Linked DNA regions of Homo sapiens: all the other regions are linked to region 4. The links are contacts of gene promoters, found by promoter capture Hi-C in blood cells and fetal thymus (Javierre and others, 2016). All regions are on one chromosome and are shown on one strand. Each heading gives the region's core, a stretch centred on a gene start or on the middle of the fragment in contact. The rest is flanking DNA. Distances are from core to core; before and after follow the strand shown.

Region 1 (3,652 bases), core at 600-3,099, 420 kb after region 4:
GTCATCACGCACTGGTGCCAGGTCATCGTGCACTGGTGTCAGGTCATTGCGCGCTGGTGTCAGGTCATGATGCACTGGTGTCAGGTCATCAAGCACTGGTGCCAGGTCATCACACACTGGTGTCAGGTCATCACGCACTGGTTCCAGGTCATCACGCACAGGTCTTCACACACTGGTGCCAGGTCATCACACACTGGTGCCAGGTCATGCACTCAGGCTTGGGCGGGATGGGGGCAGCACTCCCTTCTGAGTCCAGGTGGCCTGGCTCTGGAATTCATGCTTTAAAATCCCAAGGTCACTGGGATTTTAAGCACTCAAGATGCTGAGTCATAGGACCACAGAGCCAAAGATCCCATCCTCTGATACCACAGACTTTTTAAATAGTTAAAAAATAACAAATAAAACCTCAGCCTCATTTGGCTTAAGAGGCTTTTTAAAAAATATTATAATGGCTTAGCATTTTATCATATAGAGTCCCAGAAGGCCAGGTTCCTCACAGTCACAGATCAAAACTCAAGAACTAGGACTAGGGGGAGCCAATCAAGATGGGGGGATGCACCCTCCGGTGGCCCCGCCAGGTGACACAGGGTGAAGTCCCCAGCACGGCTCACTCCACAAAATCCACCTGACTCTTCCCCCTGAAAATCCCCCTCCTACATCCCGGGGCATTTTGAAGTTGACTTTCAGCCCCTTTGGTTATCTCTCTAAGTGGTAATTCCTGCGGCATCCCAGGTGTCAGAAATGGAAACATATTTTGCTATATGGACTTAGTAGCTCAGAATTTTTTTTTAAATAGTGAAAAGTTTTCTAGAATAACACAGAAATGTTTTTGTTCTAGTTTTGCCTTTCAGATGTTGCTCCCCTTAGATTGTCATCCACAAACAGGCGAGACGGAAAGCTGTGCAAGTGAATCCATAACCCCAAGACAGAACTGCAGGATTCCTGGTGTTCAACCTTGTTCTCGCCCTTTGCGAATGGTTCCAGAGCTGCTTGCTGAATCCTGGGCTCAGAACCTCCTCTGTGACTTAGGTCATTATGAGAACGAATATACATAACAAAGGGTACCCCTGAAAGGGCCTCTGACCCCAGCTGTTTAGATCCATCTAAACATGCTTGAAAATACACAACGTAAACCATCTCCCTTGTTACCTTGGAAAGCAGTAAGGATTCTATGCAGGTTGTGCTAAGGAGATATTTAAGAAAATTTTTTTCCATACTAAATGTGTTCATTTGAAATACAGAGATCATCTTCTCATTTCTATAAATGGGATCTGACAGGAGAAGCTCCCAAATATAAGAAGTGTTTCTTCCACTGCATTCAATGGAAAATGGAGCACGCTAAACAGTGCTAGTGAAACAGACATTCGTGTGCACACGCGTGCGTGTGCTGTGCGTGCACATGTGTGTATTATTCCACCTGCAAAATGGAAATTCTTAGAACACCTTTCAGTATACATTTCAAATAATATCACAATTAATGACTGGATTTCAGAAAATGGCTTCTTTCCAGATCATTTCCACATTCAGGGTAAAAAGTGTTCTTGAGCTTTCTGTGCCCTTGCAGGAGATGAAGGCATGCTTGTTCCCTAACAGCACATTTTTGAGGGAAATCCACATTTGCATCTCACTGTTGGCACCCACATCTGGGATGCCCCCACAGCTGCCCCGACAACCCATCTCTGGGCTCTTGACTGCAGAGGCTCGGAAACGCCATACCCTTGACCGCAGAGGCTCGGAAACGCCATACCCTTGACCGCAGAGGCTCGGAAATGCGATACCCTTGACCGCAGAGGCTCGGAAATGCCATACCCTTGCTTGGCTGCCCTCCTGGTGCTGACGGTGCCTCCGAGATGTGACCCCGCTCCAGCTGGTGAGTCTATGGAGCACCTGCTCAGTGGCTTCTGAGCAGAGTCCGGCCTTCTCCATACTGATGACTGCTCTTCCTGGAGCCCGTGGCAGGTGGGGCTGCAATGGCTGACCCACGGCCAGCTGAGAGTGAGAGCCAGCATGCTCAGATGCATGACGCTGGCTTGGGTCCCAACGGGGCTGACCCCAACCCGGTGTGGACAACCTCTTCTGGCTCTCCTCTGCCCTGGTCCCAGTGCAGCTAACAGTGACCCAGCCATGACAACCTCCTTTGCCCTGGTCCTCGTGTAGCTGACCCCAACCCAGTGTGGACAACCTCCTCTGGCTCTCCTCTGCCCTGGTCCCAGTGCAGCTGACCCTGACCCAGCCGGACCAACCACCTCCGGCTCTCGTCCACTTGGCTCTACCCGTCCTTTGCTATAACCAGGACTGGGCAGGTTTGAAGGATGTGCCACCAAAGGCTTCCCAAACAGAACACGAGGAGAAGGCATCTTAATAAGGCACCTCCCACGTAAGTCTGGGTGCTTGGAAGTGCAAGAAAGGCCTTCTGCAAGATGGCAAGCGTAGCACTCGTGTAGTTGACAGTGTGTTGGGGACAAAGACTGGAACATAGATTTCTTAATGCAAAATGCTAAAAGGAAATGTAGAGTGTGTGCCAGCTGGGAGGCGGGGAGTGAGCATTGTTTGTCTGGAGAGCAGAGGGTAAAGGGGGAAAGGCATTCTGGGAGAGAAGTTTGGGGAAGCAGAGTGGGAAACTGTGAGGGACACCCCAGACAGCTTGATGTTTATGCCACAGGCAAAAGAAAAGTACTGCAAGTTCTTAATCAGGGACTTGTGAGCTGGGAGCTCAGGACGGTCCCTGTGCGTGGGGCCTGGAGGACGAGGTGCCTGAATGCAGGAAGTGGTGTCCTGGACACAGACCCCGAGAGGCTCCTGCAGACTTGAGCTGGTTTCTCATGAGACACCAAAGGGCTTGGATTTTAGGGACAGAGCCCACAGGAATGAGGAATGTGTTAGAGGTGAGATGATTCCAAGGCGCCTAGACTTCTCCCAACAAAGGCAAGATCTATGATAGGAAGAAAAACAGGTTTTGGAGGTTGGACCTGAGTTTGATTTGGACCTGCTGATTCTAGGGCACTTCCAAGAAGTCTGTGAAAGAACAGAGCAAGTGTGACGGGCAGGGCTGTGAACCTCTGAGTGCTTCAGATGTAAAAGTGTGGAAGACGTCGGGCTGTGAGTGTCACGCAGCAGAAAGGTGGAGGAGGCCTCTCAGGTGAGGCGGGGCCACGAAGGGAATCCAGGAGGAAAGTGAGAGGGGCGTGGGGCGGGGGACGCTCCTGGGCACCCGAGGGACAGGAGGAGCCCGGCCCCGGAGCAGATGCTGAGAAATCAAGTGGAATGAGATGGGGAAAGACCGTCAGATGCAGCAAGCTGGGGTCATTTTTAAAAAGGACAGTTTCAGTGGATATGGGTGCAGAAATGAGATCGCAGACGTTAAGGTAAGAAAATGGAAGTATGAGTGGAACTTTTGAACAACTTGTCAGGAACAGCAGAGAGGACAGGCGATTTGAGAAAGGCTGTGAGTTTTCTTGGATGGGGGGATGAAGCAACGTGAACATTTATTTTTAGAAGGTGAAAATAAGACACCATGGGAAAGACACTCAAAGAGGCGGGCCTGGGATCATTTTTCCTGTCTACAGGAAACGCTATGCTGAGGCCAACAGTGTGCTTGGCCGTGAAATGTGCTTTACAGGTCGGAAGTAACATGGTGCGCAGAAGGCAGTTT
Region 2 (3,844 bases), core at 930-3,429, 300 kb after region 4:
AAAAAGGTCACGGTGGGTGGAAACAAAATGAGAAGAGAAAGTGCATGGGCAGAATTTCAGTGAGGATGTTGTCACTTCAGAAACCCACACCTCCAACTTGTGGTCTGACGAGGTGATCAAACTCAGGACACAAGACGGCGCTCCTCGCCCCACCGCAGCTAACGTCAGTCACGTTACAGGGCAGGTAGGATGGAAAGCGCGTGGCCTATGCTGCGGTCCAGCTTAGATTCTAGCAGCGCGGCTTTCATATCCTGCTCAGGCAAGCCTTGGTCACTCACTGGGCCTCTGATTCTGTGACAAATCCATTGGGCAGACACCCCGAGAGAGCAAGAGGTGACTGAGTCATGGCCTGGCTGTGAGGGACAGCCCACAGTCTGGAGATAGCAAGCCGCCAATGCTGCAGTCACCCTTATAAAACATTTGGAATTACGGAAGCTGAGCAGAGCAGGTTTTGCTTGTTTACTTTGTTTCTGGTTTGCAGAGAGCATTAGGTTGGAGGAAGTTTTTTTTTCTTGTTCTTACATCACAAAATGTAAACTATCAGAGACTTAAAGCTTAAGCATTTTTGTGCATCCAGACAAACCACGACAAAACAAAACAGCCAGCCACAGCCTACACGTTTGGGCCAGGGTCGTGGTTCTCTCACGGAATGCTGTTCAGAAGCGAAAAGACACCAACATTGACAATTCAGGAGAAGGAGAATTTCAGACACCGTATTCAGTTCTCTTTGTGGCTGAGTCTCTGCAATACGCTGTCTTCCATGTAAGGACTAGAATCAAAGGCTGAGCTGTCTCCATCGCTCCCTGCCCATTGAGAGCCTATGGTCATATGGGGAAACTACCTTTTCATCATGGAAAAGAAGAACTGGTGAGCTTCCTTTGCTGACTCATTAAGCCATTCATCTAGCATTCACCAAGTGCTACATTCATCCAGCGTTCACCAAGTGCTACCGGAGTGCCAGGCTCAGGGCCACATAGAGCTGTTTAGCTGTTCTTGTGACTTTTTTTCCGCTTTTTCTTTTTTTTTTTTTTTTTGAGACGGAGTTTTGCTCTCATCGCCCAGGCTGGAGTGCAATGGTGTGATCTCGGCTCACTGCAACCTCTGCCTCCCGGGGTGAAGCAATTCTTGTACCTCAGCCTCCCGAGTAGCTGGGATTACAGGTGTGTGCCATCATGCCTGGCTGATTTTTGTATTTTTAGTAGAAACGGGGTTTCCTCATGTTGGCCAGGCTGTCTCAAACTCCTGACCTCAGGTGATCCACCAGCCTCGGCCTCCAAAAGTGCTGGGATTACAGGTGTGAGCCACCACGCCCGGCCAATTTTTTTTTTCTCCTAACATCTCAGGGGAACGTTTTTATCCTCGTGCAGTTTGCCCATCACGAGCCGGGTCCCGTGTTGATGCCAAGGTCATAGCAAGTGTCATGCGGCACGCCATTGGGTACTCGAAGTGTTTAGGTGCCTGCCCTCCCCTCGGATCCGGCCCCATCCAGGGGCCCTGCTCCCATTTCCTGCCCTGCACCTTCCTCCAGGAAGTCCCCCTCCCGGCCACGCCAGCCCGTTTCCAGACCTCACCCTTGACCTTCACCCCTTATTTGTGCACGTGCTGCCATCCTTCGCGGTGTCACGTCTCACCGTCACATTCCCAGCCGGGATAGTTCCTGCATATCACGGAAGACCTGCCTAGGGAGCTGCCTTCCCGAGTTTTCATCTTCTCTCGTCCTCAAGGAGCCTCCCGCCAGGCACGCGGCTCCTTCCGCTGGCTCTCCCCTCTCTCTTCTGTCACTAGAAGGGCCTTGACCCTATCAGCGTCGAGCCTTTGTCGTGATGACGCATTTGTCTTCTCTCTGAGTGGCTCTGTACCGCGTTCTCTTAGCTAATCTGTGTTTCTCAAAGTTCCCTTCCCTGAATGGTTCCAACGTCCTGTTGGAGGAAAGAGAGATTTGCAGAAATTTGGAAGGTGGAAATGAAGGAGCAGCTATTTTCTACAGGACGATCATCTGTGTTTATTCACACCGTGAGGCTCAAAGAGGTTGCTTCCCCCCTACCAGCGGAAAAGGGATGCTGCACGAAGGAATTTTAGGCAGTGACACTGTAATGGTGGGTACGTGTCATTCTACATGTGCCCAAACCAGAGAACGGCCAACGCCGTGACTGGTCCGTGTGTTACAGTTGATGAACCTGCATTGGAGTATCGGAGTCGCCAGTGCGGGCACAGACATCTGCGGAAACATCAAGCCCCGCTCATCCCCTCCTAGTGGGAAGCCCCCCCTACATTCATCAACGCCACAGGTTTCTTTATGGGAGAGTTTTAAAGGTTGTAGTTTTAGGCTGCCTATTTGTTCAGAGCAGAGAAAGAGAATAAGCTCTGAAAATGGCAAAGGCATAGCAGGAGGAGATTGGAACCATGGTGGAGATCAGCCCCCAGGCCAGGACTGCACAAGCCGTCCCTCAGTGGGAGGGACCTTCCTGCTCGTGGTGGTCACTTGCCTCATAGTGAGCACTCATTCCCCCGCCGGGGGCGGCTGGCACCCATCATTGCAGATCTGTGGGTGCTCCTATCCCTCCAGAGGACACTAAAGAGCAGGGGAGATGCACTTTCCTTCCAGTCCAAACCAGCCACCTGCCCGAAGGAAGAAGGAGAACCAGGGCTGCATCCAAGGAAAACACTTTCATTTCTCAAAGGAAAACATTAGGAACCTGAGGGAAGCTATTGCCAGGTGTGTAACTGACCCAGGATCTTCATCTAGAGCAGGGCTGGCAAAACAAGGCCCTCAGGCCAAATCAGGTCCACCATCCATTTATTTTGTATTCTCTGTAAGCTAACCATGAATTTTATTTTTTTTTAATGGTTCAAAAATGTAGAAGGAGAATGATGTTTTGTGACATGTAAAAATGATATGCTGTTCACGTTTTCAAGTCCATCAAAATAAGATAAACTGAACAGCACCAGGCTCATGGGTTTAGTATTGTCTGCAGCTGTTTTACGTGACAGCAGGAGAAAAGGTCCCACAGAGACCACATGGCTCACAAAGCCTAAAAGGTTAACTTTCTGGCTCATTACTGGAAAAGTTTGCTGATCCCTGACTATTTTTATTTTATTTTATTTTATTTTATTTTATTTTATTATTTTTGAGACAGGATCTCACTCTGTCACCCAGGCTGGAGTGCACTGGTGCAACCTCGGCTCACTGCAGCCCTGACGTCCCAGGCTCAAGCGATCCTCCTATCTCAGCCTCCCAAGTACCTGGGACTGGGACAGCAGGAGTGCAACACCCACACCAACACCAGACCACAGCCTTGACCCCTGAGTTTAGAGCATGCAAGAAATTCCTACAAATCAATTAGAAAAAACAAGCGATTTAAATAGAGAAATGGGCAAAAGACCTGAACAAGCACTGTACCAAAGAAAAGATCAAAATGGCTACTCAACGGATGCTCCCCTGTGTTATTCATCAGTGGCTGCTGCTTACAACCACAGTGAGATATCACTACATAGCCGCCAGGACAGCAAAGTCAGGAAAGAGGAGCAGGAATCAGTGTGGATACAGAGAAACTGAACTCAGACACTGTTGGTGGGAACTGAACTCACACACTGCTGAGGAGAACTGAACTCACTCACACACCATGGGGGGACTGAACTCACTCACACAGCACTGAGGGGACTGAACTCACACACCACGGCGGGGCCTGAACTCACTCACACACTACTGTGTGGAAACTGAACTCACTTGCGCACCCCTGGGGGGAAGTAACATTTTTGCATTGACCCTGGACCAATAACCACTGAAACTGAACTGAAGCTTCCATGGCGACACTGTGATTCCCCACGACCAGCAGAAATGCAA
Region 3 (3,718 bases), core at 1,122-3,621, 270 kb before region 4:
TATTTAAAATCAAAGTTCCTTAAGGTTGTAGTGTTAAATATTGCAACAGGAACTGCTTAAAGTCATTTTGTTAAAATCAGCTGAGAATCCTCCACCACACCAGCGTCAGAGGCTCACAGAGGCTCCGCCCCCTCATGACGGCAGCCTCACGCCCTGTTCCTCCGGGTTCCAGGGCAAGCGTAGGACCAGGAGAGCCAATCAGATACCTCAGCCCCATCACGCTCTCCATGGTTTCCACTCACAGTTCGCCGGTTATAACGAGTCACAAGGCCACACCTAAAGTCAAGGAAGTAGGAATGATGATGGTCTATGGAGACAGAGGACAACTGGGTGTGGTGAATCTCAGTCTCGCCGACCCCAGCCCAACCTCGTAGCAGGGCAGAGCACAGCAGCGCAGCGCAGGGGTGAACAGCACGCACCCTGCAGGCAGATGGTGAGGGTTGCAAGGTGGATGCCTGCAGTTACTTCCCTATAATACCGGGGCAAGTTGTTGAAGCGCTCCAGACCTCACGGTCCTTGCCTGTAAAGCTACGTATAGAACAATATCTGTCTCTGGGATTCTGCTAAGAGCTGAGTTAACAGATGTTAAGCACGGAAACAGTGCGTGGGACCCATGAACACTCAGTAATCACTCCCAGTACTGTGATGTGAGTCCAGCAAAGACCCAGCTGTGCCCTACCAAGACCATATTTACTTCAAGCACAATAAATAGAAAAGCCCACACCTCGTTTAGAGCTTACTCCATCACTTTATGGTAAAGAGCTCACTCTAAGTTTCATTCTGGGTTCAGCATCAAATATAAGATGTTAAAAGGCAACAGGCACAGTCGTCTTGGGTTCCTCTCCTAAGGAAGAGTTATCCCCTAAGGAAAGGTATCCCCCAGGTTCCCGGGTGTCTGCAAGAGCTTGGGACACAGAAGAAGCAGTTTTGCAGAACCAAGTGTATTCTTAGAAGAGAGAAGATTTTGCCCCAAATATTCCAAATTTTTGCATTGAAGAAATTACGAAAAAAATTAGAAGATTATGCTACCAAGCAAAAGAGCTCTTTTCTTTTTCTTGCGATTTTATCCATGTTTTAATAAATAAAGGACAAGCATTTTGCTACCACTCCAAGCAAACACCAAGAAAGTGAAGGCCTTCCACACCTCCCCAGTCCCCCACACCTCCCCAGTCCCCCACACTCCAACCTCATTCTCTAGGAGCCACCCGAAGAAGATTAGCATCAGCACACGGCACGGTTAGTAAATGTGTGTGCTGTTCAATTGTCCACATTTATGGATCAATGCATTCAAATATGACATTTACTTTAATGCACCTCGTTTTTTAAAAACGGTATTGCTATTCTTCCATACTACATATGGCAATTTTTGTCTTTCAAAACTTCTATACTTTGGTGTAGCAGAATACATCTAGATTTTGTCTTGCAAAGCTTCTATACTTTGGTGTAGCAGAATACATCTAGAAAAACATAGTAGAAGATTATTTGGATGTAAAAGGACATAAGTATAACAATTTTATTACTTTTGTAAAAAAAAGGACTGGATGTTTTTGTGTAAGTATTATATCATTATTATTTAAGTAATATTATCAAATAAAATATTGCAACAGGAACTGCTTAAAGTCATTTTGTTCAAATCACTTGAGATCCCTCCGCCAAGTAACTTTTATGATCTGCCTTAAGTCATTTTAATATTTCAAAAATACCTTAAGAAATATATAAACATAAACAAAATATTATTTAAAATAATCATTGTTTCATAACTGAGCAGTATCACTTTAATATAAAGTGATTTTAATAGAAAGCCTGCCAAAATAGCTTATTAATATCTATATTTTTCTGAACTAAAGTCTAAATATAATTTTAATAATTTTTATGTCTTCTTTAATAAATAGTGATGTCTTCTTTTCTCTGTAGGTGGTCTTCCCATTGCAACTTGCATTTATTTGTTTATTTATTTTGAGACGGAGTCTCACTCTGTAGCCCAGGCTGGAGTGCAGTGGTGCTACCTCGGCTCACTGCAACCTCCACCTCCCAGGTTCAAGCAATTCTCCCGCCTCAGCCTCCCAAGTAGCTGGGATTACAGACACCTACCACCATGTCCAGCTAATTTTTGTATTTTTAGTAGAGACGGGGTATTACCATGTTGGCCAGGCTTGTCTCAAGCCCCTGACCTCAGGTGATCCATCCGCCTCAGCCTCCCAAAGTCCTGGGATTACAGGCATGAGCCACCACGCCCAGCCACATAGATGCCTTTTTAAGGCTGAATCCTGTTCTGTTGCACATAGATGCCACAGTATGTGGATCTATTCATCCATTGATGGACACCTGGGTTGCTTCCACCCTCTGGCTGTTACGAATGGTGTTGCTATGAACGTGGATATAAAATATCTCTTTAAGACACTGATTGAATTCTTTTAGGTACATACTCAGAAGTGAGACTGGCAGGTTATATGGTAGTTCTATCTTCAGTTTTTTTGAGGAACCACCAGACTGTTTTCTGCAACCGCTGCCCCATTAACTTGTTTGTGGTAATCACTATACAATCTATATACATATAAAATAATAACATTGTACACCACGGCTCTCTGGTGGTCACTCACACAGGTGAACAGGGCAGAAAGCCTCAAGCCGCCCAGCTGAGGTTGAACAAGGCTCCACACGGTGAGACGCGTGTCCTTTTCACAGTGGATGTAGTGCCCTGCTTTTGCATGTGTGAGTGTGTATGTTGGTGATTTCACTGTTTAAGTGGCCCCCAATCAATACTGAAGTGCTGACGGCTGCTTCTAAGTACATGAAGGCTGTTACGTGCTTTATGGAAAAGACTTTTGCTCGAGCAGGCAGGAGTTATAGTGATGGTGGCCATGAGTTCAAAGAGAAGGAGTCAACAATAGATATTAAATCAGTTGTCTTTAAACAGAAATACACATTCAACAGCAACTTCCATTTCCTCCTCCAGCCTTTGGAAGCCACCATTCTATTCTCTGCATCCACAAATCTGAGTAGTTCAGATATCTCAATTAGGAAAACTCACACAGTATTTTTCTTCTATGACTGGCCGTTTCACTTACCATCATGTCCTCCAGGTTCTCTTCAAAGTCTCACTTACGCAAGATGAAAAAGTTCTAGACATCTTCTGCACAATATTTGGCTTTCACTTAATGATACCGTACTGCACACTTAAAAATTTGTTAAAAAGATACATCTTCTGTTATCTGTTCTGACTACAGTAAAAATAATAAAATAATAATTATAATAAATAGAGTGCTGGTTGCCAATAAACAGGAAGTAAAACAGAAACACATTAAACAAGCTTGTGTATTGATCAGTAGAAGAATACGTTGAGATAAAAGCTCAGAGGAATCTAACCTAGTATTTCCCTCAGGAGCAATGGTTTGGTGTTTGCTAATCCAGGGTTTGTAGTGAGTCTGTAGAATATATTTCCCACAAATCATGAGAATACACATAAAATTAACATATAAAAGTCAAAAGCCTTTGTATACCAAACTATAATGAGCCAGAGAACACAAAGGTAGAAAAAAATAGCACAAAGATCAAATACAAAGAAGTAAACTTCACAAAAAACACGTAAACCGATAGCAGAAAAACTTACAACAATCCCAAAAAGCACAAGAGTCTTTAAGCCCTGAGCCTGAACCAACCCAAAGCCAACCATGCTGGCACCCTGAGCTCCAACCTCAACCTCCACAAAATAAATGTC
Region 4 (3,643 bases), core at 250-2,749:
GTAGATAATCCTGGCGCCACGCTGTACTGTTAGCACAGACCGTCCCCAGGGAAATATGACTTGCCCGGGTCACCGGTAGGGCCACGGCCGAACCCAGGCGCCAGCTGACTCTCCTGACAGCGTCCAGCCCACTTTCCACCACAGCCCAGCTCCCCGGCCACTCCCGGAATGCTCCTGACACGTTTAGGAATCATGACACCAGGATGAAACGCGAGCCTCTCCTCCAGTGCAGGGGACCACGTGTCTGATATCCCCATCCTAATTCCTTCCTGCAAACAACGTGTGGAGCCCATTCCTCATGTCACCAGGATGGGTTTTAATTTGCAAAAATGTTTGAAGTACAAAACATTGACTTCCACTTAATGAAGGAAATTGTTTGTACAGTTAAAAATGTCAAAGTCAATAAATACACCAAATTAAAGCTTTCTAGAGGGGAAAGGGACTCCCAGACACGCAGCGTTGGCCTGTGCCACAAGTGGCTAAGCCCTTGGCTCCCAAGACAAGTTTTAGCTTGGGACTTGGTTTATTAAATAACGCCTTAAATTATCTTTGTTCCACGCTTTCTTTGAGTCCTGTTTTACTTCTACTTAGTAAGAAAGGAATGTGAAATGGAGAATTAGAAAAGGCCAGGTGTTCCCAGTGATGGCAAACCCCTTCCTTCCGTTTGCCTCCGGTGCCTTCCACGTGCAACCACCCAGCCCCACTGTCTTTCTCCAGCAGGTTGCATTTCAAGAGCACGCCCTGAGAAGGCACAGCCTCTATCAGCGGAGTGGAGCTGAAGAAGTCTGAAGGGTCACAACACACCCAACAGCACAAAGAAGAAAACAGCCGTAAGAACGCTGTCATTTTTGGGCAAAAACTTGCAAGTCCTGACAAGGATTGTTCTCTTTCCCATACCGTGGATAATATAGGCTAGGTCTAAGCTGAATGACCCTCGACTCTTTTTTCCCTTAAGAAAATATCCAGTTTTATTATTTCACACCTTTATAAGTCAGCCCTCTCCTCGGGGGAGGCTTTCGTTTCTGAGAATCTCATGAAACTTGCAGACATCAGTCCACTGACTGGGGGGCCCCCTGGGGCCACGATGAGACCAGGGCTAAAACCCAAAGCACACGCCGCAGGGTGCTAAACGGCACTTAGCAAAGACCACGGCTGTGGGAAATAAAATGTTAGTTGAGCATAAAACCTCGTCAAAGAAATACAGATCCCAGAACTAATTGCTCTGTTTTCCACAGTAAAGGGTGCCTGCGACGGGGTGCACTGGCTCTCTCTTCTTGACCCTGAAGTAGAGGTACTTAGAAAATGTGAGTGCAGAAGTTACCGGTCCTCCCCTTAAAGCCACAAATTAGAAAAGGCAAGAAGAGAAAGACACTTACCCAGACAGAAAGGAAAATTGCAAGGAGGAGAGAGAATTCCTGACCACCGGCTCACCAAGCCACCCACACTCCAGCCGAGGAAGGCAGAGCTGACTCCTGCAAAGCAAGCGCCTGTGCCTCCCTCCCGTTTAAGGTCTGAGGAGCTACTATATATAGACGCCTGGGCCTGCCTCTCCCCACATCAATACCCACATCGTAAATCACCAGCCTGACCTCAGGAGGAAAAGCTTCTTGTTCAAACTGAGGGCGGGGGAAATCACGATTCAAAACTGGAACGTGTCCTTTCTGAGTCCCAAACTGCACTTTTCCCAGGAAACCGGGTGTGACACTTCAGCCCCCGACCCAGAAAGAGAGGGCAGGGCACTGACTTCCCACGCTCCCTCCCCGCAACTCTCCTCCATGAGTTCTAATCCTTACGTGTGAATTCTCAGACATATCTTCAATCCTTTCGAGCTACAGGTTCCCTGGCTCACAAATTGCAACTCCTGAATGAGTCTTTAATAATGACATGGATTTCAGTGAGCATTTGTGCCATTCGCAGGCCTGGACACCCGAGTTGAGGTCGGCTGTGGAGGGAGGGAGGTGCACAAGCCCCTGGGTTTGTGAGCGTGTGTGTGCATGTTCGTGTGTTTGTTCGTTTTTTTTTTTTTATTTCAAGAACGACTCAGGTCTTCACTCGATTGTATCTTAGGGCTATTTTAGCAAGAACTGCCTACCCAAAAGAGGAGCGGTGCCTAGTCGGCAAGTCGGGGCTTATTTATAGCCATTACCACAGACGTACACTGCGTCTACACCACACGGATAATTGCAGGGTGCCCGTCGTTTCGCACAGCGTGTGTCCAAATATAGATAACACACACCTGGCACGGTCCTGGGCTGCAGCCTGGCCAAGAGGCGGGGCCTCAAGGGGATGCCCCCATCTGAGGACCCGGAGAATCACACTCCAGCTGCACCTCACCACAGGGGCTGAGGACTTCGGCCAGCTGCTCAGCCCACGGGGGCTATGCTCCCCAGCTCTAAAACGCATGGAATAACAACTTTCCTGTAAGTTTGTTGTGACAAGTAGAGAAAATATGATAAGAGAATTGCCTTAAGAAACTCCACGTTCTCACACTGGGGTATCAGAGGCACAGCCAAGGACCAGCGAGCAGGTGGATGGAGGCGAAGATCAGATACGAGAAAGACGCGAGCACAGCCTCTTGCTGGGCCCCAGAGCGTTCTGGATGCTGGATCAGGAGGCGAGTGTTTCTGTCTTCTTCCCCTTCGTATTCTGATGGCCTAGCATTTAATTTAATTAGTGTTTGTTGAGTGATTTCTTAGTCTATTCAGGCTGCTTTAGCAAAACACCATAGACCGTGTAGCTTATAAAACACAGGAGCTTCTTTCCCACAGTTCTGGGGACTGGAAGTCCAAGATCCAGGTACCAGCAGACACTGCCTGGGGAGAGCCTTCTGGTTCTGGGACGGCGCGGTCCCTGAGTCCTCACCAAGTCAAGGGGCCAGGCCGCTCTTGGGGCCTCTGTATGAGGATACTGATCCCACTCGGGAGGTTCCACCTCCATGACCTTGTCACTTCCCTAAGGCCCCACCTCCTCACACCATCGTTTTGGGGGTTAGGGTTTTAACCCACATATTTTGGGGGGGTTGCAAACAGCAAGACCAGAGCAAGCAATGTTTACTTCCGGTTTATCAGCATCTCCTTCTCTAGCGAATCCATTTCTCAGGGACCTGGGGGACTTCCCTTCAGCCCTTCTGCCCCCCTGCCTCTGAGTGTGGCCGACACTGGAGGGGCAGTGATGGTGCCTCGTCCCCTCAGGTGGCATCTCAGTCCTCTGAGTCCCAGTCCTGGCATCTCAGTCGCCTGGGTCCCAGTCCTAGCATCTCAGGAGGGGACAATCTCATCCCGGGGAGGGGCCTCTCCTGAGAGAAGGAAGGGCCAGCACACTCCTCCTCCTTTTCTGACATTTCACGGTGGCTGTGCCCTCCTTCTGTGATATAGAAATCCAGTGCTGCGTCTAAGAAAGCCTGGATCTTTCAGCCACACCACCCAGAGAGCAGAGTGTGACCCGGGACACAGATAGGCTCCTGATGGGGACAGAGCTTCGCCTTCTGCTGGGGACAGGAGACCCCTCCCCACCCTCCTCGTAGACCCCCATCTCCCTGAGCCATGCCTGCCCCTGCCCACCCGGGATGTAGCTTCCAAAACTCCCTGGGTGAGGTGCACCTGCAGGAAGCCTGGAGCCAAGAAGGGACAAAAGACGGAGGGAG

The links. Contacts are between HindIII fragments. The CHiCAGO score rates a contact against its expected background, and 5 or more counts as called.
Region 1: the fragment with the promoter of DLGAP2-AS1 here is called in contact with the fragment with the promoter of MYOM2 in region 4 in 4 of 17 cell types (M2 macrophages, naive B cells, total B cells and 1 more); the score reaches 8.1 in M2 macrophages.
Region 2: a fragment that was not itself captured here is called in contact with the fragment with the promoter of MYOM2 in region 4 in 1 of 17 cell types (fetal thymus); the score reaches 5.1 in fetal thymus.
Region 3: a contact is called between a fragment that was not itself captured here and the fragment with the promoter of MYOM2 in region 4, in 6 of 17 cell types (activated CD4 T cells, non-activated CD4 T cells, fetal thymus and 3 more). The highest score is 7.8, in activated CD4 T cells.

What each region holds. Positions count from the first base shown.
Region 1 is chr8:1,619,861-1,623,512 of GRCh38, reverse strand. It overlaps DLGAP2-AS1 (DLGAP2 antisense RNA 1), which reads left to right and starts at 1,849. Exons shown (of 4, transcript NR_103863.1): 1 at 1,849-1,870; 2 at 3,000-3,139; 3 at 3,620-3,652. The region is part of intron 6 of DLGAP2 (DLG associated protein 2); the gene reads right to left. The HindIII fragment of the contact is 8,845 bases long and covers 1-3,652 here.
Region 2 is chr8:1,742,146-1,745,989 of GRCh38, reverse strand. LOC105377778 (a long non-coding RNA gene) reads left to right here. Exons shown (of 4, transcript XR_007060784.1): 4 at 3,138-3,171. Among named protein-coding and RNA genes, the nearest start is that of CLN8, 20 kb to the left of the region's middle. The HindIII fragment of the contact is 3,245 bases long and covers 557-3,801 here.
Region 3 is chr8:2,313,821-2,317,538 of GRCh38, reverse strand. No RefSeq gene overlaps it. Among named protein-coding and RNA genes, the nearest start is that of MIR7160, 240 kb to the right of the region's middle. The HindIII fragment of the contact is 1,882 bases long and covers 1,431-3,312 here.
Region 4 is chr8:2,042,902-2,046,544 of GRCh38, reverse strand. It overlaps MYOM2 (myomesin 2), which reads right to left and starts at 1,499. Exons shown (of 37, transcript NM_003970.4): 1 at 1,377-1,499. The HindIII fragment of the contact is 1,181 bases long and covers 425-1,605 here.